4 separate regions of the Homo sapiens genome follow, and regions 1, 3 and 4 are each linked to region 2. The links are contacts of gene promoters, found by promoter capture Hi-C in human tissues and cell types (Jung and others, 2019). All regions are on one chromosome and are shown on one strand. The core of a region is centred on a gene start or on the middle of the fragment in contact, and the rest is flanking DNA. Distances in the headings are between cores, read along the strand shown. Region 1 has its middle 23 kb from the start of KCNA3. Region 2 holds the start of KCNA10 (potassium voltage-gated channel subfamily A member 10). Region 3 has its middle 13 kb from the start of RBM15. Region 4 has its middle 59 kb from the start of KCNA3.

What was found. Contacts are between HindIII fragments. The study calls those that stand out against the background at their distance.
Region 1: a fragment that was not itself captured here is called in contact with the fragment with the promoter of KCNA10 in region 2 in 2 of the 25 tissues and cell types used here (ovary and thymus).
Region 3: a fragment that was not itself captured here is called in contact with the fragment with the promoter of KCNA10 in region 2 in 2 of the 25 tissues and cell types used here (hippocampus and stomach).
Region 4: a fragment that was not itself captured here is called in contact with the fragment with the promoter of KCNA10 in region 2 in 2 of the 25 tissues and cell types used here (dorsolateral prefrontal cortex and spleen).

What each region holds. Positions count from the first base shown.
Region 1 is chr1:110,650,105-110,652,994 of GRCh38, reverse strand. No RefSeq gene overlaps it. Among named protein-coding and RNA genes, the nearest start is that of KCNA3, 23 kb to the left of the region's middle. The HindIII fragment of the contact is 3,152 bases long and covers 1-2,890 here.
Region 2 is chr1:110,517,730-110,520,656 of GRCh38, reverse strand. KCNA10 (potassium voltage-gated channel subfamily A member 10) reads left to right here and starts at 1,482. Exons shown (of 1, transcript NM_005549.2): 1 at 1,482-2,927. The coding sequence starts at 1,870. The HindIII fragment of the contact is 7,025 bases long and covers 1-2,927 here.
Region 3 is chr1:110,350,754-110,353,596 of GRCh38, reverse strand. No RefSeq gene overlaps it. Among named protein-coding and RNA genes, the nearest start is that of RBM15, 13 kb to the right of the region's middle. The HindIII fragment of the contact is 6,528 bases long and covers 1-2,843 here.
Region 4 is chr1:110,732,715-110,735,643 of GRCh38, reverse strand. No RefSeq gene overlaps it. Among named protein-coding and RNA genes, the nearest start is that of KCNA3, 59 kb to the right of the region's middle. The HindIII fragment of the contact is 4,663 bases long and covers 1-2,929 here.

The sequences.
Region 1 (2,890 bases), core at 273-2,772, 130 kb before region 2:
GAGATACACACACACACACACACACACACACACACACACACACACACACATATTCCCAAGCTAGTAGGTTAGGATCCTCTTTAGATCCAGAATGGTCAAATATTAAGAACATTTTGTTTTCAATATTTATTTTCCATGTATGCCCAGTGTTTTTGTATCATAAGAGGATAATTTCTAGCATTCACATTTTACATACCAATTGTTCTCATTTTGTGCTTAACAATATTGATCCTTACTCTTTTTCTTTTTCCTAATAATAGCTAGTTACTCAAACGTGTTTTTACTTTTGGAATGTCAACAAATGATACATCACCAAAACAGAGGCCCTCTCTCTTGGATAATTTCTAGCATTCACATTTTACATACCAATTGTTCTCATTTTGTGCTTAGCAATATTGATCCTTACTCTTTTTCTTTTTCCTAATAATAGCTAGTTACTCAAACGTGTTTTTACTTTTGGAATGTCAACAAATGATACATCACCAAAACAGAGGCCCTCTCTCTTGTTTCCATCTGGAATTTTACTTTGTCTAAAAAAACTAAGTGTAGATTTAGATGGCTTTACACATGTGGTGTTAGCTATTAGAGACAAGAACAAAACATATTTTTCTAATCCTCCAATTGATATGAGAAATGACTTTTTAAGCTTTCTTGTCATAGAATTTTGGTGGTGAACTCCATTAGTGACTATTTGTAAAGTTTTTGTTTTGTTTTGTTTTGTTTTGTTTTTTTCTTTTTGAGACAGAGTCTTGCTCTGTTGCCCAAGCTGGAGTGCAGTGGCATGATCTTGGCTCACTGCAACCTCCGTCTCCCATGATCAAGCGATTCTCCTTCCTCAGCCTCCGAGTAGCTGGGACTGCAGGCATGTGCCACCACACCCAGCTAATTTTTGTATATTTAGTAGAGATGGGATTTTACCATGTTGGCCAGGCTGGTCTCAATCTTCTGACCTCAGGTGATCCGCCCACCGGAGCCTCCCAAAGTGCTGGGATTACAGGCATGAGCCACCATGCCAGGCCTAAAGTATTTCATTTTAAGGGACCAAATCTTTAAGTCTTTTGGAAACAATCACAGAGTAAATTAAGAGATGCAGGTTGTTTCCAAGGGATTACCTATATCGTCTTTGAACCATGCCTCTATCCAAAAGAATTCACACCTTTCTGCTGGATTTCAACAGAGACAAATTAGTACACAATTACTGCTGCACACCTCCTATGAGTTAGGACCCACTCAATCGTCCATTCACTTTTCTGTACTTTGTACCAAAACCCTTATAAATCTTGTAACTTTCTCTCCCTTAGATCTACTGTTTATAGGTTTCATTAATCACAATCAAATTGGTTATTTTGTTTCAGAAAATCCTTTTTACATTTGGCGATATCTGGTAACTTGAGTCATAGAGGAGGAGACTATATCATTGAATTAGAAAAGCCAAATGAGGAGCTAAAATTCCAGGGACAATACTGTCTTAAAACGTAAGGTCAGTGAAGTAATTTTTTAGGAAATGGAGCCACAAGAGAAGGAACAAATAGAAATCTGATTTCAAAACACACAATTGACAAGGAAATGAATAAATGTGGCACAGTCCCTCACCCATGCCTGGTTTGATTTGGCATAATAAATGCTTCTAAATGAAGGTGAAGAACACAAATGGATTCATAGGCACTATTCATTAAATTTTACAATGTAGATGCCATGTATTACTAGTTTATACCCATTATGCCAGCCATGAAAACAGACAGTTGTTTCCATATAACCTGAATCTAAAAGTAATCAGAGACAGCATGATGTAAGTTAGTCAGAGGGCCTAATAGGAATCTGGAATCCTGAATAATCGATGATAAATATATCTTAAGTCTAGTTTTCATTTACCTCTATAGAGAAGCTGAGGAATTCTGCAGAGGAAAATGTTTGTGTTTTGTCTTAATTTGTGGCAATAGAGATGGAAATAAGAGAGAGGAAAGTGACATTCATAAATGTGGATGAAAATTTTTGAGGTAGAGTTAATTTTTGCCTTTATTCCTGGAGGCAATTTATAAGGCTATTTTAACTTTGTATGTCCTAGTCTCGAGAAAGTATTGAATTTGTGATTTTAATATGCTGCTCCCTGCAGGCACTTTCCACGCCAGTAGTAATCTCTGCACTATCAGGCCAAGCTCTCAGCATGTGTAATAGCCAAGAAAAAAACTAGCAAACAGAACTCCAGGGGCATGCCATACATGTATGTATAGTTAGACAAGATTAGACAGCTCTACAGGGCACCCCTCAGAGGCAACCCACATTCTCAGAATGTCTGGAATATACATTAATGGGGCATTATATCTGTACTGTGCTTTCTAATATTTACAATATTTTATGCATATATAGTTCAAAGCAACTCTATATACTTAAATATATAAAGTATATATATTCTCTGAAATAGGCAGAGAAGGTAGTATCACATGCTTTTTATAAAAGAAGAAACTGGATGCACAGTTATGCAATTTACCTAAGGTCATGTGGTCAGTAAATGTCAGAAAGTGACTAGAATACAAGGTTTTCTGCCTCCTCATCTGCAGTTCTTTTTGTATAGTCACATTTCCACCCCCCCATCACCCCACTTATCTCAAATTCTGACTTCCCTAAGAAGTGAAGAAACTGAGAGCATTATTATCAGAAAATCTTAAAGAAGAGCAGAAGAAAGCCCTTGTCGTTGTATTTGTCTTATACTTTGTTCACATTGGCGAGCCTAGTCCTGCCTCAGCAAGCCTCAAGATCCAATCCCCTTACCTTAAAGTGAGACACCAAGATAAATAAAAATCCAAGCTCTTCAGACTGAGTCAACCATCATTCCCTTTGTCTATTCATTTATTCTTTCAAAAATATTCGAGTATTTCTCCTTCTCACTTCA
Region 2 (2,927 bases), core at 233-2,732:
GCTGCCAAGCAGTTCAGGACAAGGCCCCCAAATCATCATGCGAATTACTGTGAAGCTACATTTCTCCAGGGCTTTACCATGTACAGAGCCAGGATTTGAACTCGGGTGGACTGATTCTATTCTCAGATTCCATCCTGCCTCCCAGCCATCCTACTGCTCACCGAGCCTTGCAGAGCAGGCTGGCACCTGGCATGCTTGGCAGTGGGTACATCCTTCCTCATTCCACAACTGAGGAAGCAGCAGCTCCGTGAAATTAGGCCGTTTGCAATGGCCACATACTCCTGAGAGGTAGAATGGGTACTCTACCAGTGCTGACCAACCAGACTTGAGCTCATCATTCAACACATGGCACCTGAACTGAGAAAAGGGGTCATGGGATGGAAAGAGCTCTGGACCCCTGACAATTCTGTGGCCCTAGCCTACAGCTCCCCACAAGGCTCAGCTCCTATATAGGGACTCCATGGTCTAGTGGGAAAGGCCCTGGGCCAGAAGGCCATGGCCAGGTTTAGGTCAGGACTCTGTAGCACTAGTTATGTGACCTTAGGAAGTCACTTTGTCCCTGTGACTTGGTTTCCGCATCTGCAAAACAGAGATAACATCTAACCTCACGTGATTATTGTCATCTAGTGAGATAAGTGAATGTGGAATCACTTTGAAAAGACTACAACACTACACTGCAGGATAGCCTTGTCGCCTGTAAAGGAAACCTCTCCAAGGCTGTGACCACTACAGATTTTGCCTGAGGTTAAGTCCCTTACTTCTCTCCCACTCCCACCCCCAGCCTGCCTGGGTTCAGTGTTCTTAAATTGAAACTGAAGCTAGAATGAACCTGAGGAAAGAAATATTAGTCTATGTGTATAGATGTCCAAGCCCACTGGGCATGATTTCCTAACCCCACCTCCAGCGTGCGCGCGCACACACACACACACACACACACATATACACACACACACACAGACACACACAATTATTTACTTCCTTCCCACCTAAAATGATTTCTCAAAATGAAATTACTTCCTATGGACACCTTGGACTCAGGCCAAAAAAAATTCCAATTGCTGGTAGTTTCTAAAGTGCTTGTTATGTGGGAAAGTTGACAAAAAACAATAGCTATAATATAGTGATCTTTCTTTCCACCAAGCATTCCATACGTGTTATCTCATTTGAGGTACCTTCAAAACAACTCTAGGAGTTATTTCCAGGTGAGGGGTCATTTAGAGGACATTGTCGATTGGCCAACCCAGCGTCTTGTTTTTCCTTCCCTAAAGAATCCCCATTGGGTTCATAGATCTGGTTCCACCCTTCACCACTTGGTCCAGAAGCAGGGGTGGAAGTGATGCAAAATGGTTGAATTCTAGATATATTTTGAAGACATGACCAAAAGGATGTGTGAGGGACTGGCTGTTGGTGTGAAAGAGAGGCATTACGAATGAGATTGGGCATGGAGACGTGTTTGGTGAGACAGAAGGCTTCATGCAAATACAAGATCATGCTTTTTATTATTAAGGAATGTTAACTTCCTCTTTTAGTATGGCCCCTCTGCCATCACATATGGAGACCATCCTTTGCTGGGGAGAATCTCCCCTTCTTTGCCAGGATCCTTTTTTTGCAATTTCTCCTAGTTATTAGTTTATGCAAACTCAGGGGTACAAAATGATTTTAAGGGAAGCATGCTGCCAAAATAACCATGACGTTCCTTCCCAAGCTACAAATAAGTCATTGATTAGCCCATTGGTGTACCTTACCTCAATAAACAAGGGCCAGTTGTATTCTGCCCTGGATCTTGTATAATGAACTTCTTCTTCTCCATAGCTCACAGCAGGCAGTGAAGGCTGAGGATCTTCATGCTTCTTCCCTGGCTCCCCTAGAATGGATGTGTGTGGCTGGAAAGAAATGGAGGTTGCGCTGGTCAATTTTGATAATTCAGATGAAATCCAAGAAGAGCCAGGCTATGCCACAGACTTCGACTCAACCAGCCCAAAAGGCCGGCCTGGGGGCAGCTCCTTCTCCAACGGGAAGATCCTCATCAGCGAAAGCACCAACCATGAGACGGCCTTCTCCAAGCTTCCGGGAGACTATGCTGACCCCCCAGGGCCTGAGCCAGTGGTCCTAAATGAAGGAAACCAGCGGGTGATCATCAACATTGCTGGGCTGAGATTTGAGACCCAGCTCAGAACCCTTAGTCAGTTCCCAGAGACTCTCCTGGGAGACCGGGAAAAAAGGATGCAGTTCTTTGACTCCATGAGAAATGAGTATTTCTTTGATCGGAACCGGCCCAGTTTTGATGGAATCCTATATTATTACCAATCTGGTGGGAAAATTCGGCGCCCAGCCAATGTTCCCATTGATATCTTTGCTGATGAAATCTCCTTCTATGAGCTGGGTAGTGAGGCCATGGACCAGTTCCGGGAGGATGAAGGCTTCATCAAAGACCCTGAAACACTGCTACCCACCAATGACATCCACCGTCAGTTCTGGCTCCTCTTTGAGTACCCTGAAAGTTCCAGCGCTGCCCGTGCTGTGGCCGTGGTCTCGGTGTTGGTTGTGGTCATCTCCATCACCATCTTCTGCCTGGAGACACTGCCAGAGTTCCGGGAGGATAGGGAGCTAAAGGTGGTCAGAGACCCCAATCTCAACATGAGCAAGACAGTCCTCTCCCAGACCATGTTCACCGACCCTTTCTTCATGGTGGAGTCTACCTGCATCGTGTGGTTCACCTTCGAGCTGGTGCTCCGGTTCGTGGTCTGCCCCAGCAAGACTGACTTCTTCAGGAACATCATGAACATCATTGACATCATCTCCATTATCCCCTACTTTGCAACTCTCATCACAGAGCTAGTCCAGGAGACAGAGCCGAGTGCCCAACAGAACATGTCCCTGGCCATCCTGAGGATCATCCGCCTGGTGAGGGTCTTCCGCATCTTCAA
Region 3 (2,843 bases), core at 265-2,764, 170 kb after region 2:
ATAAAATGTGTCTCTAGAGCAGTGGTTGTCAACCCTGACTGCACGTTACAATCACCTGGGAGCACTTAAAACAAAATGAAAACAAAACTGGGCCTTTGCAGAAACCCACTCAATCTACATCAATTTATATGAATCTCTGAGAGTGGGCCCCAGTCATTGGTATTAAAGTTCCTCAGGTGATTCCATTGTACAGCCAGAGTTGAGACCTCTGCCATAGAATGCAGAAAAATTACAATTAAGGGGTCTAGTTTACTGAAGTGTTTCTGTACATAAATATACACAAATGGCATATATTAAGATACTTATCGTAGGCTGGGCGCGATGGCTCATGCCTGTAATCCCAGCACTTTGGGAGGCCAAGGTGGGCAGATCACGAGGTCAGGAGTTCAAGACCAGCCTAGTGAACAGAGTGAAACCCCAACACTACTAAAAATACAAAAAATTAGCCGGGTGTGGTGGCAGGCACCTATAATTGCAGCTACTCCGGAGGCTGAGGCAGGAGAATCGCTTGAACCCAGGAGGCAGAGGTTGCAGTGAGCCAAGATCACGCCATTGCACTACAGCCAGGGCGACAGTGCAAGACTCCATCACAAAAAAAGAAAGAAAGAAAGATACTTATCTTGGGAGCTAGGTAAAACTATTGATACTCAATTTTTTTTTTTTTTTTTTTTTTTAAGAGATACGTCTTGCACTCCTGGGCTCAAGCAATCCTCCCACCTCGGCCTCCCAAAGCGCTGGGATTACAGGTGCAAGACTCAGCGCCCAGCCTGATAGGCAATTTTTTTTTTTTTTTTGAGACGGAGTCTCGCACTGTCACCCGGGCTGGAGTGCAATGGTGTGATCTCGGCTCACTGCAACCTCTACCTCCCGGGTTCAAGCAATTCTCCTGCCTCAGCCTCCCGAATAGCTGGGATTACAGGCATGCGCCACCACGCCCGGCTAATTTTTTGTATTTTTAGTAGAGACACGTTTTACTATGTTGGCCAAGCTGGTCTCAAATTCCTGACCTCATGATCCAACCACCTTGGCCTCCCACAGTGCTGGGATTACAGGCGTGAGCCACTGTGCCTGGCCTCTGATAGTCAATTTCTATATGCTAAAATGAAAATCAATTTTATGAAACATTAATTTTCCCAATAGGTCTTAAACTGTGTAATAAAAAACATATACGAATACAGCATCCCAAAGTGTTAATAATTTTACCTGTAATAATTATATTGCAGACACTAGTGTAATGACTTAGGCTTATGCATAAAAATTTTTCATTAAGTCCTTTTCCTAGGTAAAAAGGAATCTGCTGGTTACCTCAGAAAGGTCAGATAAATTCAGCACTTAAAAACTGTATACACACATGTATCTTATTTGCATAGGATAACAGCCATTTCACAAAAAGACCCTCTAAACTATTTTTTAGCAAGGGAGTCTGGTTAAATATCACTAGAAAAACTGCAAGTTATGAAATATAGAAAGCATGGTCAGTGTGTTATATCAGTCATATATATGACTACAGTGGAAACTGTCATGACAGTTTATTGAAAGCAGAAAATATGAAGCAGCACATTCAGAAAATGAGGCATCTTCAGAAGGGAGACTGCTTTGAAAGTTCAGAATGGTCAACAACTATGAGCCCTAAAAAGAAATAAAATCTTTATTATTGTATTTAAATAAAAGAACAGTGCTGATCTCTGAACAGGAACATAGTTACAATCTGACAGAGAATCTGTGAAATGCTAAGTAACTTATTTTCTTTGGCATTTGAAGGAAATTTATTACTTTCCTCAGACAGGTAGTCAAATATTGATCAAATCACATCACTCTCTGCTTAAAAACCTACAATGTCTTCCCATAGCAATCAGCACTTAGAATACAATCCAAACCCTTTGTCTGGAGCCTAAAGGCCCTAATTTATAGCTTACCACCTCCTTTCTTCCACCAGACTGTAAGCTCCACAAGAAAAGAGAAAAACGTCTCTTTTTTTTTTTCACAAAGACACTCCCAAGATCTAGAATAATGTCTGATATATAATATGTACTCAAATATTTGAATAGTTCATTGGCTATACTTATCAAACACAAATGCAGTATAGATACTGTAATTCAAAATAATCATTTACAGGACAAAGATACACTCAACTTTACCTATAATGCCTTTGTCTCAATCCTATTGATAACTTAGGAGTAGTAGATATAGGTGATGGTCCATTAATGGAAATAAGTTTCATGTGTACACACTCAATCCCAGCATCACTTTCAATTTTAAGACTATAGTCACAGTATTTTTAGATAGACATCTGAAAACTCAAAGATACCTCAATCAGTTCCTGGCTGTGTATCCTTCAGTTAGTCACAAAACTTTTCTGGTGTCCCTTTAGCATTTCATAAACAAAACAGTGGCCCATCTTCAGGACTGTTATGAGGCAAAATTAAATAGTAATCTAGATTGAGTTTCTTGGAGAAATAATTACATGACTAGAAAACTGTTATGTTACTTAAGTGGCAATTTTAAGTAATAAATTCCATGGCAATTGCAGTTTTGTTCTCCTTGCCTGCTGCAACAGCTTTAAAGTTATCTTCTAGAAGCTCCTCTCAGTTTCTGAGACAACACAATTCTTTTTTTCCTATCTAGGCTTTTTTCCAGCACCATCTTCTCTTCCCATGCCTCAAATATGACATTATCCTAAGTTTACCTTAGTACTCTACTCTCTATGGGCCAGTGTTGCTCAACACATGGCCCACTGACCACAGAATATATCAGAATTACCTGAGGGGTTTGTAAAAGAACAAAGACTCCTAAGTCATGCTGGTCCTAACAAATTCCAGAATGTCTAGGGAGGTACCAAGGGC
Region 4 (2,929 bases), core at 28-2,527, 220 kb before region 2:
AGCCAGAAAAGGGAAAGGTAGCTGGGCAGAGTCAGCTTTCCACAGCCAGCCTAGACCACTGCTCCCTGCCTGTCATCCTCAGTTGAAGCCAACGAACATCCTTTGAGACCCAGCTCTGCAGTGACCACTCTCCAAAGCCCCTCCTCAGCCCAGGACAGAGTTGGGGCCCCACTGTACTTCGTTTGCATTACAATCTCTCAGCTGCACTGTTTGTTTTTGTTCTCATGTTTGTGTCCCCCTGGTACTCTGGGCATCTTGAGGGCAGAGAATGGGGCTCCATTTATGCCTGAACTCCCGGCACCCAGCACTGTCAGTCTCAGAGCAGAAGCTTGGTGAGTGTAGAAATGGGATTTACTGACCACCTTTTTAGGATTAGGCACTGAGGACACAGAGATGGAGACCACATCCTGATTTCAAGTTGCTAATGGTCCAATGAAGAGCTGTTTTAAAGTACACAGTAGGTATACATACGGTAGGCCCCTGGAAGGAAGATTTTGTTATCATCATTATCATCACCATCATCAGCAGCAATGTCTGCTTAGCCCTCAAGAAGTCCTCCAGGATGTTTTCAAGAGACTTCAGCTCCTTCTCCTGGAGATAGTACCCAGCTACTTCCTACTTTAAGTGCTAACAGTTCTGCAGTCCCCCGCACCAATAACACCTTGCTTGTCAAAGTACCCTGGAACACATGCCCATACATTCCCCACGCCCTCTGAAAATGCTTCCTGATCTCCCATTGCCACCCCAGCCACTTGCCCTTTGTTAAGCCAAAGGACAAACCATCATTTTGCCTGGTCAATAACTGCCCTTCTCTTTCCTTCCCACAAGAGAAGGGGCCATCTCACCATCTCTGCAGCCCTCAGCTGCAAACAAACATTACCCAGGAGCAGGACTTGACTAAGGAAAACAAGGCGCTAAAGACAGCTGGAAGGAGGGCTGCAGGGTCCTATGCAGGGAACCGTAGGTCACAGCACAGAAATGTGGAACCTACGAAGAGCATCAAAACATTATTCATGGGAAGGGGGAGATGGAGGACGGACCAGGGACTGGCTCTAGCTCTGCAGGGGACTGGAGCATCACTCCCCCAGAGCCACTGTTTTCAGTAGCCTAAAGCCAATTGCTTGGCACTGCCCACCCACTCAGTGTCCTCCTCTGCTCCTTTTGGATATGATCTGGGGTGGCGAGATGAAGGGTGATCAAATGACTGTGTATTTCTACCCTTTTCCGTAGTCATGGAAATGGATGAGGAGAACTGGCAGAGAGAGGGGTGGGAGGTAACTTTGGCCCTGAGCCAATCCTTCCCTGAAAAGGCTTGGCAGGGCATTCTCACTCTGACTTACATCATGGAGCTCCAGGCAGCCTCACAGGCATAGAGGGCTCTGGCTCCCACAGCTCCAGCCTACAAATCTAGCTTTGATTTTAGAACTGACTGGCCCTTTCCCTACAGGATAGTGGCTTCCCATGGGGGCATCGCTCAGGGCTACTGCTGTATCAGTCACAAGCCCAGCTGTCAGCTCTTTAGCCTGAGCCCTTATTTCTCTGAATGTCCCTGATTCTTCCCATGCCTCTGAGCATGGCCAGACCAGCCCTAGAGAATCAGGGGCCAGTAACCTAGTCCTTCTCCTCTCCACCTCCCCATCCACACCCAATAGTGATGCTCTCAAAACGGAACAGCCAGGCCAAAAAAAAGGGGGGGTGGTGGGGACAGAATCAGGATTTTAAGGATAGAGGTCATGTTGATAAACATAACATCCTTTCTAGCCCCATTGCGGTTCATGAGCCAAAGATGAGCTAACTACTTGTCTGGTATCTGGGATGTATCCACCTTGGGAGGAAAAGGAAAGAAAGGAGGTCAAACTCTTGCTGGAAGTCATAACTCTCCTCTTAAAAGCCCTCACACATGTTTATATAAAGATCTACAGAAGAATTATTTTGAAGCTTTGTCTCCATTACCTTTCAAAGAGAGACTGTTCTGGGCATGGAAGTAGAAGCTGACAGAGAGGCCAGAGAGATGCCATGAAGGGTCTCACTCTAGGAGGTAGCCCAGCGGCTCGATAAAATACTTGGAAAGAACAATTTGGGGTTAGAAAGGAGACTGAAGCAAAATTAACTATCTCTGCCTATCCTACCTTTCTCTTTGACTTATGCAAGTGATTCCAAGATCCTGGGAAGATGAAGCAATGACAGCTCTTGCTCTGCATTTATTCATCAGGCTGGAAAGAGAAAAGGGGAAGGAGGTGTCTAGAGAATAACTGAGGAAAGAACTGGAAGAACTTCATGAAGTAGAGCCTTGTAGAGAGGTGTGGATTCAAATCTTGGTTATGCTACATATGAATTATGTGACCTTAGGAACATTAACCTCTGTAAGCTTCTACTTCCTCATCTGTAAAATGGATTATCTACTTTGTAGAATGCCTTGAGGGTCAGCTGAGATAATATACTTAAGACAGCACATGCCAACAATGAGTATTTTTTATTATTATCAGAGATAGTATGCCTGGTCTAGATGGGACTCTAGATGAGAGGGCATCAATAGGTTTACTGGGAAGCTGGGCCAGGTGTGACAGGCACTCTGGGGCACTATGCAAGGATTCCCTGCTTTCCCAGCTACCAATTCTGCTGTCACTTTGGAAGCCTTAAGGAAGCAAGAAGAGTCTCCTCTTTGTGCTATGGCTTGGGGTCATAGCTCCAACTCCAGACCATCACAAATGAACTCACATAAACCTTTCAGTAAAAAGGATCTTCTAAAGATGGCTTCTGTCTCCAGCTAAATAGAGAAGGTGCTGTCTATGCATTCAGTTGTATGCAAAATGTAAGAGAACTTTCCTGGCAAGGGGCATAGAAGACAACTGTATGAAGGAAGAGTTGCTATGGAAGAGAAGTTTGATGACAGAAAGACAGGGGTAGCTTGTCTGGAGTGCTTAACCTC